Linked DNA regions of Homo sapiens: all the other regions are linked to region 3. Evidence: promoter capture Hi-C in 16 types of primary human blood cells and fetal thymus (Javierre and others, 2016). All regions are on one chromosome and are shown on one strand. The core of a region is centred on a gene start or on the middle of the fragment in contact, and the rest is flanking DNA. Distances in the headings are between cores, read along the strand shown.

The links. The method cuts DNA at HindIII sites, captures the fragments that hold promoters and counts their contacts. A CHiCAGO score of 5 or more calls a contact.
Region 1: a fragment that was not itself captured here is called in contact with the fragment with the promoter of APP in region 3 in 1 of 17 cell types (non-activated CD4 T cells); the score reaches 5.5 in non-activated CD4 T cells.
Region 2: a contact is called between a fragment that was not itself captured here and the fragment with the promoter of APP in region 3, in 1 of 17 cell types (megakaryocytes). The highest score is 8.4, in megakaryocytes.

Annotation. Positions count from the first base shown.
Region 1 is chr21:26,059,935-26,064,081 of GRCh38, forward strand. All of the region lies in intron 3 of APP (amyloid beta precursor protein), which reads right to left. Among named protein-coding and RNA genes, the nearest start is that of APP, 110 kb to the right of the region's middle. The HindIII fragment of the contact is 7,631 bases long and covers 1-4,147 here.
Region 2 is chr21:26,043,485-26,047,496 of GRCh38, forward strand. The region is part of intron 5 of APP (amyloid beta precursor protein); the gene reads right to left. Among named protein-coding and RNA genes, the nearest start is that of APP, 130 kb to the right of the region's middle. The HindIII fragment of the contact is 6,437 bases long and covers 1-4,012 here.
Region 3 is chr21:26,169,085-26,173,111 of GRCh38, forward strand. It overlaps APP (amyloid beta precursor protein), which reads right to left and starts at 1,686. Exons shown (of 18, transcript NM_000484.4): 1 at 1,480-1,686. The coding sequence starts at 1,536. APP-DT (APP divergent transcript) reads left to right here and starts at 1,783. Exons shown (of 4, transcript NR_186396.1): 1 at 1,783-1,968. RefSeq lists enhancers at 189-398, 897-1,421 and silencers at 439-708, 1,209-2,038. The HindIII fragment of the contact is 2,642 bases long and covers 1-2,171 here.

The DNA of each region.
Region 1 (4,147 bases), core at 888-3,387, 110 kb before region 3:
ACTGAGAGACTATGTAACAGTCCAGGTCACATAGAGAGTAAATGGCAGAACTGGGAGAATTAAATGAATTAATATCCCTAAAGTACTCAACTAGTGCCCAGAACAAAGTTGCTCAATAAATTATATTAATAGTATCCTTCTCCCCAGTATCTATCTCATCAACCACAGTAGTTTCTCATAATAATAATCATAGTAATCAAAACAGCAACAGCTACTCTTCATCATTCACTAATCACCTATTTCGCACCTACTGAAGACACTGGGGTTTTATATGTTCATTGCACCATCACCACCTACTTGTAGCCCCACAGAGATGACATGGTACTGTTTTACATGTGAGTACTGCTTATGATGGGGTGAATACATGACAGCAATCAACACAGCGGGGTGGAGTCCCTACGACTGGAGAAGCAGAGAATCTGAGTGATCAACTCTTTCAACTCTTGCACCGAGTGCTGGTCCTGGCTGGGAGGGGGTGTTTCCTAAATCCCCTCTTGCAGCCACTGTCCTTTATCCACTAACTCTTCACTGCATACTTACAATTATGTCTCAGTGCTAAGAATACAGCAGTGAACAAAACAGATAAAACGATATATGATCCTAGCGGGGAAGCGATAAAAAATACAGATAAAAATACAGTGTCTGTTGGATGGTAATAAATGTTACATAGATAAAGCAGAGAAAGGGGTGGTTTGTTTGTTTTTTCTGAGGGGTGAAATTTTAAATAGGGTGGTCAGGGAATGCCTACTTGAAAATATGACATTTCAGTGAAGACTTGAGGAAGTGAGGGAACAAAGTATTCAGAATCAAAGGGAAGAATATTCTAGCCAGAGGAAGCAACAAGTATTACACAAAGTCTTGAGGCAGATGCATGCCTGGTGAACTCACAGAAGAACAAGGAGATCAGTGCTGTCGTGGAGGAATGATGTGGAAGAGATCAGTGGGCAAGCGAGTGAGTGACAGCCAGGACAGGACAGGGACAGCTGACTGCACGGGGCCTTAAACATTGTCCAACTCTGGCCAGTACTCAGAGTAATGCTGGAAGGCTCTGGGGTGGTTTTCTAAGCTAATTATTCTTGCCCTAGGGGGTCAAGACTAGAAGTGAGAAGACCAGGAAGGGGGCTCTGGCATTAATCCAGGTGGGAGATGACAATGACTTGGACCAGGATGAGAGCAGTAGAGGTGGTGCGTGTTCTCAGATTCTGGATGTCGTCTGAAGGTCAGATCTAAATAATCAAATAGAAAGGAGTCAAGAATCTAGCTTGTTTCTATTCCAACAGCTAGAAGATGCTTTATACTGAAGATGATGGAAAAGTCTGGACAAGACTTTCCTAATTTTTCTGTGTAGATGTGTAGACAGGTAGAACTTTTGAGAATTATGTACTTACTAACTTGTATACACTAGATATGTGTATATGAAAATGACAGCTACAGATAAATGTTTTCTTAAGTGATTTTTTATTTTACCATTTCAGACTCTTACTCCACAAATTTTTTTGTCTTGAATGTGCTCATTATATGCTATCTTTTGTAACTTTCACATTAACAAATAGGCTGGGAAAATTTTCCTGGGAGGCATCTGTACTCAAGAGACGGGACGATTACTTCACAGAAACAGCCAAACATTTCTCAACAAACTTTCCATGTGATAAAACTGTTATGGTTTTAGCTTCAGAGTGTGGGCAGTTACTGGGTTCTCAAAGAGGACATGAGGGTGAATTACACATCCTTTTAAAAAGTGGCTGTTGCCGTCACCAGCATTTCACTGTAACTATTACCGGATAATAGTGAGAACTGACAGATGGGATTCTTCAGATGAGAACTATTTGCCAGATGGTAGGAACTAAATGGATCAAGATAAGCAAAAAGGCAAAAGAAGTGAAAACTAAAAGTTTTACCTAAATCATCTCTCCAACTTTTCCAAGTGCACAGATCCAGCCTCACATACGTACCATATACACACACAGATGGCAGAGTGAGTATAAGACAGAATAGTGCTGGCCGGGAGTGGTGGCTCATGCCTGTAATCCCAGCACTTTGGGAGGCCGAGGTGGATCACAAGGTCAGGAGTTTGAAACCAGCCTGGCCAATATGGTGACACTCCGTCTCTACTAAAAATACAAAAATTAGCTGAGCATGTTGGCGCGCACCTATAGTCCCAGCTACTCGGGAGGCTGAGGCCGAAGAATCTCCCGAACCAGGGAGGCGGAGGTTGCAGTGAGCCAAGATCACACCACTGCACTCCAGCATGGGTGACAGAGCGAGACTCTGTCTCAAAAAACAAACAAACAAACAAACACACACACACACACACACACACACACAGAATAGTGTTTAACCCAGGCTCTGAATAACACTGGTCTTAAAATAATAAAAATAGTGCAAAGGATTTACTTTAAAAAAGAGAAAAGAAAAAAAAAACCACGGGAACAAAATAAGTATTTATGGCCAGGCATGGTGGCTCACACCTATAATCCCAGCAATTTGGGAGGCCGAGGCAAGTGGATCACCTGAGGTCAGGAGTTCGAGACCAGCCTGGCTAACATGGTGAAACCCCGTCTCTACTAAAAATACAAAATTAGCTGGGCATGGTGGCGGGTGCCTGTAATCTTAGCTACTCGGGAGGCTGGGGCAGGAGAATCGCCTGAGCCGGGGAAGCAGAGGTTGCAGTGGGCTGAGATTGTGTCATTGCACTCCAGCCTGGGTGACAGAGGGAGACTCTGTCTCAAATAAATAAATAAATAAATAAATAAATAAATATTTGTTAGCAGTCTTGCAGCTTTTAAAAAGATCCATATAGGTGTGGGTTAACAAATTTTTTTATATTTTTTATTTTTTATTTTTTTAAGAAAGAGTCTTACTCTGTCTCCCAGGCTGGAGTGCAATGGCACGATCACAGCTCACTGCAGCCTTGACTTCCTGGGCTCAGGTGATCCTCCCACCTCAGCTTCTCGGGTAGCTGGGACTACAGGCACATGCTACCATGACCAGCAATTTTTTTGTATTTTTAGTAGACATGGGGTTATGCCATGTTGCCCAGGCTGGTCTCAAATTCCTGGGCTCAAGCAATCCACCTGCCTCAGCCTCCCAAAGTATTGGGATTACAGGCATGAGCCACTGTACCCAGCCTGGGTTAACAATTCTGATACGGCTACGCACATATACTGAAACTGAACAATTAAGTACATAGATGGTGGATGGAGTGAGAATTTATACATAACCAAGGAGGAGAGATATAGTGTCCATGTGGTAATACGTTAGAGTAGGAAACATCCGGATGAACTTGTATTTAGCTTAATATAGACTAGATATTATAGCTTAATATAAATACAACTAGTTAGCTATAGAAATATTTATAGATCTGCATAACATAAGGGTGAACATGGACAAATACATTGCCTTGCTCTATCAACTGAGAAGTCTTAAAAGCAAAGAAACTCCAGTGGCAACGAGCATCCTTAACATCCAGATTTTAATACTATTCTCCAATAACATTACTCTCCAATAAAAGGAACAAGGGCTCCTTGGAGGAACAGCTGATTCTAGGATTAGGGCTGAAAATATGCAAGATGAGACTGCAGCATCTTGTAAGAAAAAAAAAAAAGAGGCTATGTCAAATGAGCATAGGAACCAAGTGAAAGGGCTTCTAATAGCTAAAGCCGGAATAATTTGAGCAATAAAAATTATGAAGTAGTGCTGGATTAGAAATCAAAGTACAATGTAAATATCCATGAGTCTAAATGACTGAATGAATGAATACATAAATAGGAAAAAAGAGACAAATCTCCTGCGCAGAAGAATTCCAAATAATTTATGTAGATACTCTGCCCTCAAGAAAATGAAGCATAATTCTCTGCTCCTTAATTGTGGGCTGTGCAAACTGACTTCCTTCCAAAGAGTAGAGCACATAAAGTGGGAAGAAGAGTAATTTTCAAGTGGAGAAACTCAACAACCACCACCTGAGCCAGGTGATCAAGGTCAATGCCAACAGGGCTGTATCATGTTGATAAACACGTACCCTTGATATGATGTGATGAAATGGGCATTTTACCTCTGTGGTCTTCCTTCTTAAAACCAATAACCCCAGGCAAAGCATGAGAAAATTCCCACAGAGGGGAATCCTACAAATTATCTGACCAATACAAAA
Region 2 (4,012 bases), core at 559-3,058, 130 kb before region 3:
CCTCCCAAAGTGCTGGGATTACAGGCATGAGCCACCATGCCTGGCCTAGTTTTTCTTTTTTAAAGACCAGTTAGTTTTGGTGACACTATTAACCTTAAGTTAACATGATGACGTAGGTGTATGTGTTTGATGTGAATGCCAATGTGATTCAACTCAAATACTTGTTGAGCACCTAACTACCTAACTTATAGAAAATTATGCCAAGTATTTTCCTGCATCAGGTTGTACAGGCCTCATAATAAATGTAAATTCTTGGTAAGTAGGATAGGCTGTTAACCTTTAGAATACCATCAGGTCTTGGACACAATTTTACCTTTGAGTTCTGAGCACTTCTAACTACTTGTGGGCTGATATTCTCACTTTATCCATTCATAGAGAAAAAGAAATTTAATCGACTAAAACTCATTCTAGCTTGTACTTAACCATGAGTCTGAGATATGGTATGAACCTCGATCTTTTTCCTATATTGTGTTCCTATGTTACAAAATATTTATCATCCGAAGAATTATTTCATCATTAGCCATCAACTATTTAAAAACTGTGCTAAAGAAGACAAAATAATATGAGCATGAAAGAATGATATAATTGCCTAGAAAGGTGATGCAATAGGGAAATTATCACATTTTTATTGCTGTGTTCCCAAAGTACTGCATCATCTTTCAAGATGGTTTAAAAAAAGTCTGCATAGTCCCAGCTACTTGGGATGTTGAGGCATGAGGATCACTTGAGCCCAGGAGTTTGCAGCTGTAATGCACCATACTCACACCAGTGAATAGCCACTGCGCTCAAGTCTGGGCAACAGAGTGAGGTCCCATCTCTTTAAAAAGCATGATAAAAAGAAGTCTGGAGACTCACTGAATATAGTCAAAAATCATCTTCCACATATTGGCAAATAGGAACAACTGACAGAAGGAGGCATTTTACCAATTAGATAAACCAGAAGAAGAATGAAATTGATCACGTAAGTAAAACCTTAGGCTATGAGCCTTCACATGATATCCTAGATGAATTTTCTCAAGCTCAAGAATTGACAAGTGAGCAATGTATTTCTTTCTTTCTTTCTTTCTTTTTTGAGGTGGAGTTTCGCTCTTATTGCCCAGGCTGGAGTGTGATGGTGCAATCTTGGCTCACTGCAACCTCTGCCTCCCTGGTTCAATTGATTCTCCTGCCTCAGCCTCCCGAGTAGCTGGGATTACAGGCATGCGCCACCACGCCTAGCTAATTTTGTATTTTTAGTAGGGATGGGCTTTCTCCATGTTGGTCAGGCTGGTCTCGAACTCCCAACCTCAGGCGATCGGCCCACCTCGGCCTCCCAAAGTGCTGGGATTACAGGCGTGAGCTACTGCGCCCGGCTGAGCAATGTATTTCTAAGAATAAAAAGGAAATATGGTATTCTCATCCACTTAGTCATTCAACAGGAAGGATATCATCACTCAATATTATGTGACAAAAACATTAACCATCATTGCTAAAATGATGTGACAGTATTCCTTGCCATTTTATGATGCTTATGCAACACATTTTATGTCTGTGCAACACATTTATTTGATACCATTAGGAAGTGGACAAATGCCCAAGGCAGGAATCTCTCTAAGGTGATTAGAAGAGATAATGCAGAAAAAAAGGGGGAAAAAAAGACTGGCTTGATCATTTTAATAGCTGTTTACAAATCCAAACTTGAAAACATTTTATTCCTGAGGGAAGATGGCTATATTCTCTCTTCAATAAAATTATGAGCTGTCAATGTTTTAAATATCTTAAATTTTTACAATAATTAAATGAAATTGCAAGTATAAAAAAAAAAGACCAAGAAATATGATGAACCTAATAGAGATGTATTTGAAATGTAGAACCAGTATTTGTAAGACGGATATATTTCAGGTTCGTGCATGGCAGGTGATTAGCAGCTAGCTGCATTCCAAAGGATAATGCTCATTTCAGAAATCCATACCTTCAAAACTGGGAAAATACAGAATAAACATGTGGGTTTACCATATTTAAATTCTTCGTAAAATTAAAATATTTACTATGTTAACTCTTATTAAAATTGCTAATAGTTATTTCTCACTATTCCTTTATTCTTAGTTCTGTAAATTGTTTACCAAATAATCTAAAAATATGAAACAATAATAATATAAACGGCCCACTGTATCTAGATAGTCAATGGTGCTGGCCTGGTTTTCTGGTGTAGTTAGAGGGCAAGGTGACGTCTTGCCATATGTGACACTCCAGCAATCACCAGAACTGATGAAGTTTAAACTGGGTTCAATACGGAATTGTATATTCCAATGCACGCACACCTGCATACATGGCCATACGCACCCACACAAGCCACCCCGAGCTGTATTAGTTCATTTGCATGTTGCCGATAAAGGCATACCTGAGACTGGGTAATTTACAGAAGAAAGAGGTTTAACTGGACTTACAGTTCCACATGGCTGGGGAAGCCTCACAATCACGGTGGAAGGCAAGGAGGAGCAAGTCATGTCTTACATGTATGGCAGCAGGCAAAGAGAGAGAACTTGTGCAGGGGAACCCCTCTTTTTAAAACCATCAGATCTCGTGAGACTTATTCACTTCACAGGAACAGCATGGGAAAGACTTGCCCCCATGATTCAATTGCCTCCCACCGAGTCCCTTCCACAACACATGGGAATTCAAGAAGAGATCTGGGTGGGAAAAAAGCCAAAACATATCACTGCCCCCCAAACCAGAGAGTAACATTAACTAACCTGGCCAACATGGTGAAACCCTGTCTCTACTAAAAATACAAAAATTAGCTGGGTGTGGTGGTGAACACCTGTAATCCCAATTACTCGGGAAGCTGAGTCAGGAGAATCGTTTGAACCCAGGAGGCAGAGGTTGCAGTGAGCCAAGATCACACCACTGTACTCCAGCCTGGGCAACAAGAGCAAAAACTTCATCTTAAAAAAAAAAGAAAAAGAAAAAGAAAAAAAAAAACTCTTCCAAGTTATACAGTCTTAATGAAAATAAGACACGGTCAAAAGGAATCACTCCTCCAGATCTTAAGCAGCTCTTTAAAAAAAAAATGTTCAAAGAAATAGAAAAAAAAAATCATCTAATTATCCAGAAAGATACATCAAGTTACCTCTCAGCACACGCTCACCAGTGTCTGCAAACCTAAACCTAAAAGAATACATCGATAATTAAAGATTGTTTCTTAAAAAAAATGTGAGTACCTCCTCTGCAAGAGGAAAAGTGTGACTCTACAACAATTAGAGGGTCTTCTAACATTTCATTTGCTTTACGAATTCAGCAACCCCCATGGACCACTGGGTTCAATCAGATTCTGCAGTTCCAGGTGAGGAGCAGCTCTGCCTCCAGGGCTAGGCTGCCTACCTGGCTAGTCTTACAAGTTAGCTTTCCAAATGAATTTTCCCATGGAAAAAAATCTTACCCACGATGGCTGGAGTCTGTGTATTATTAACATTATGTACGTAATTATTATTATTAACATTATGCTACATAATGTTAGTAACAGTCTGGATTATGCTACATTACAGACTGCATAAATAGGTATTTTGAGGTGATCTGAGAATATGACCATTACAACACTGGAGAAAAATATACTCGGTAATTTACACATAAATTTCTGAAACACTACCTGTTTTGCCTATGTTAAAGATTTACCTCTTTTTCATACCTCTTTTTCAATGAGGTCATAAAACAGAGCTCATCCTACAAGGAATGTTTCTCTAAATGCCCCATTAGCGATAGAAAAACACTCATCTTCTATCAAAACAAGCCTCATTAACTACCAAACAACAAAATACTGTGAATCAAATATTGTTTCCAGGAAAATGGTAGCTCGTTTCTCCTTCTTCAAGAATTGTCACGTAGCATCCCCTGAAGATGTTTTAAGTCAGGTACGTTAAACTTCTATTCTGATTTTACATTTCAAGTGTCAAAAGGAGGGCTGGTTCCTGGAACAAGGAGGCTGCCAGTTGGCAGGAGCCCACCTTGTGTGTGGATCAGTGATGCAACACCTTTC
Region 3 (4,027 bases), core at 436-2,935:
TACAGCCTCCTCTGGCCCAACTGTCATGCAAACAACTTCTAAGCATCTTCAGATGTAAAGAAAAACAGTCATTGTGCACAGGCGTTAGCTGAATGTTCGAGAGTTGGATGAATGGGGAAGACTTGTTATACACCTAGTGGTGGGTGGATTTCACTAGGCTGCAGCCTCCACACAGCTTTTCTTTGCTGCACTGCAGAGGCGCCATCTTCTCCGTCTTAATCTTCACTCAATTCGATCCTTTTATCTGCACCCTAAAAAAAAGACCCTTCGGACCCTCCCCAGCATCCTGTGCCCCCAGGGGAACTAAACCAGAGTCCCCAGAGCTGCCAGGGAAGAGGCCGCGCCTTAATCAGACAAACGCCTCCTTGGATGCACAGGACAGAGCCCGTGCCTCCCCACCATCCGCCACTGCCCTTTCCAGACGCACATCCCACTCTCCGCCTTATTTCCTCCCCGCCAAGGACTTTACAGCCCAGCACAGAATTAAGCCTCGGAGGTGATCCGAGGGTGGGAAGCAGAGGGGCCCCGAGGCTCCGCCAGAAGCCCCGGCAGCGTCTCTGCCCCCTCCCAGGCGGACGCGCAGCCCCGGGAAGGGAGCCGGGCGGGAGCCTCGGTGGCGCACTGAGACTAACGCGGCTCGGCCCACGGCGAGGGCGGGGTGTCGCGGCTTTTGTTCCCGCGGACCTTCTGCCTCTCAGACAGAGCTTAGGGTGCGAGCGAACTCCCGGGACGTCCAGACTTGGGGAAGGCGCGGGGTGGCTATGGGTCTCCGACCCCTCCCATTTCTCGCAAGTTACACAAAAGGGAGACGCGGACATGCACAAAGTTTGCCTGTGGAAGGCGGTGCGCGACCCCGACGCCGGCTCGGGCTAGGGTCGCACCCAGGCTGCCGCCGCCAGCAGCCGCGAAAAGAGGTTGGAGCAAGGAAGGGGGATGGGGGTGAGAGAGGAAGGTGAAACGAGGCGGAGAACGCAGGGAAAAGCGAGGGGCTCCTAGCTTCCTGGGCTGTCCCGACTCCTCCTCCTCCTCCCCAGGGCCCAAGAGAAAGGAAAGGGCAACGATTCAAGAGCGAAGGACTGGCTTTAGGGACGCTGCGTTTTCGGTTTTCCCCACGTGCTCCTTCCCCCTTCCCCCCTGTCTGAATGTCTCTCGCCTCCCCCGACCCCCGCTTCCAAGGCAGGGACTAAGTCGGGGTCTGGGCTCAGGGTCGCCCCCTACCCTTCTCGCCCCGGGCTGGCGCGGAACCAGGGAGACCAGCGCCTCGCCCGCTCCCTCTCAGCGGGCCGGAGCGCGACTCCCTGGGGCAGGGCTGGGCCGAAAGCGGGGATGCGCTGGACGTCCGCAAGCGGGGGCGGAGAGGAGAGGGGTCCCATTGACGGACCCCCGGCTTCTCTGCATTAAAGACTTGGGTTAAGGTCTTGGGGGGTATCGCGTCCCCACCGTGCAGCCTCCCCCCGCCTTCCGAGGCGCGGCACCCACCTCCAGCGCCCGAGCCGTCCAGGCGGCCAGCAGGAGCAGTGCCAAACCGGGCAGCATCGCGACCCTGCGCGGGGCACCGAGTGCGCTGCTGTGCGAGTGGGATCCGCCGCGTCCTTGCTCTGCCCGCGCCGCCACCGCCGCCGTCTCCCGGGGCCCCCGCGCACGCTCCTCCGCGTGCTCTCGCCTACCGCTGCCGAGGAAACTGACGGAGCCCGAGCGCGGCGGCGGGGCTCAGAGCCAGGCGAGTCAGCTGATCCGGCCCACCCCGCTCGGCACCCGAGAGAGACCCCTAGCGGCGCCGCCGGGGAACTGCGCCCGCTCGCGCCGGGAGGGGCCCTCGCGCCCCGCGCCCACAGGTGCACGCGCCCTTGGCGCCGCCTGCACCCCACGCGCCCCCTCCGCTCCCCGGCCGACGGCCCACCTGGGCTTCGTGAACAGTGGGAGGGAGAGTCTGGGGCCAGGAGAGGGACGGTGCAGGATCAGGGAAAGGTGAGTCCTAGGACGCTGAGGCTCTAGAAAAGTCGAGAGCGCTCCTGCTCGTCCCCGTGAGCTTGAATCATCCGACCCCGCAGGCCTCCCGGGGGTGTCGTATAAAGGACTGCTGCTAGGGTGCGTTTTTATCCGCATTTCGTTTTTTCTCTCGGTTTGGAGAGGTGGGGCAGGCGTTTCTGGAAGAGAATGAGAACGAGTGAAGCTTAAAGGAAATAGGATTTTCTTTGCTTGTTGAGACAGCAAAACCTCATTTTTTAACCCCCAACGTCAAAAGCAGGCACGAGCAACCTGGAATTTCTATCTTTAGAACGAACCAAAGGAGCAAGGCGCAGGACCTGGCAAAGAAGCGGCCAACCCATTTACTTCTTCTTGAAAGCAGGGTTCTGGGCTTGGGTTTTGTTTCTTTCTTATATTTTTGTTTGTTTTTGGTTTTGTTTTGTTAAAGGGGGTGGTCAGTGTGGATTTTGCGGGGCGGGGGGTCTTTTTTTGTTGTTAAGCAGGGATGTAACATCCATCTGAGTTGGGGAAGAAGGAAAAATTAGGAGAGATCATTCGTATTCGACCCCCGTAAATGAGGACTTCTGACCTCAAACGCTGCCCTTGTTCTTCATTGTGTCTGTCCTGAATTATAGAAATGAACCTTCTGCCATGCCACTTTCTCCTGGATTAAACACAAACCGTCCACTGTCCAGTTAGTGTCCAGATAGTTTAGAATGCTCTAGAACTGCCCAGATATATCCCCTGCTCTTGACCTGAAGTAGCATTTAGTTACCAAGCCACAGCCCACTCCACACAGGGCTTGGAGCGAAGGACTGAAGCCAGGGAGTGCTCTGGCCCTTCTGAGGGCTGCACTGCAGCCTGCCTTCTCTCCCTTGCTCATTGCGCTGACAAGGGTGCCTAGGCCCGGGAAGGATGGCTCAGCCAGCGGGGTACAGACTTCCTTCCTGGGAAGTCATTTCTGTACCAGCTCCCCTAAATGTTGTCTTGTGTGTCTTTTCCCGCACTAGGCATTCAGTCTTGACTCTTGGATTACTTTTGCCCCTGAATGTCCTTTGGATGTCCTCAACAAATAAGGACAAATATTTATTGTCATGCAGTATTTGTTTATACGCTTCATGTCATTTACTTCCTACAAAAGCCAAAGAGGCTGTTACTATTATTCCTATTTATACATCAGGAAAATGAAGCTAATGAACTCCCAAATCTAATAGCAAGTAAGTGACATGAAGCTGGGACAGCAGGGAAAAGCCTAAAGTGACAGGACAAACCCAGTTGTTCACTTTCTGCACCACATTTACCCACCGCAATTCCGTATTTGTTCCGGGTCTGCATGAGCAAATAAGGCAAAAAAGAAGGTATCTGAATGCAAAGAGAAACGTGGTCCAAAGCTACAAATCTTGCAGAGTCCACTGCAAAATGCAAACGTGAGACCCTTTGTTACATTATTAAGAATTTTAAGGCCGGGCCTGGTGGCTCATGCCTGTAATCCCAGCACTTTAGGAGGCCCAGGTGGGCAGATCACCTGAGGTCAGGAGTTCTAGACCAGCCTGGCCAACATGGTGAAACCCCCATCTCTACTAAAAATGCAAAAATTAGCCGAGCGTGGTTACTCCTGCCTGTAATCCCAGCTACTCCAGAGGCTGAGGCAGGAGAATCGCTTGAACCTGGGAGGCGGAGGTTGCAGTGAGCCAAGATTGTGCCATTGCACTCCAGCCTGGGCGACAGAGCGAGACTCCACCTCAAAAAAAAGAAAAAAAATTAAATTAAGAATTTTAAGATGGCAATGGCAGAGCGTTAAACCAAGCATGGGGCTCCTCCCACCGCAGGGCCTGTGAGACTCTCCAGGGTTGCATGCCCATGAAGCCAGCCCTGGGAAGGAGGAGGCAACTTTAAGAGTGAGGGACTTTTCTTTGGGAGGCTGAGGCGGGCGGATCACGAGGTCAGGAGATCAACACCATCCTGGCTAACACGGTGAAACCCCGTCTCTACTAAAAATACAAAAAATTAGCCGGGCGTCGTGGCGGGCGCCTGTAGTCCCAGCTACTGGGGAGGCTGA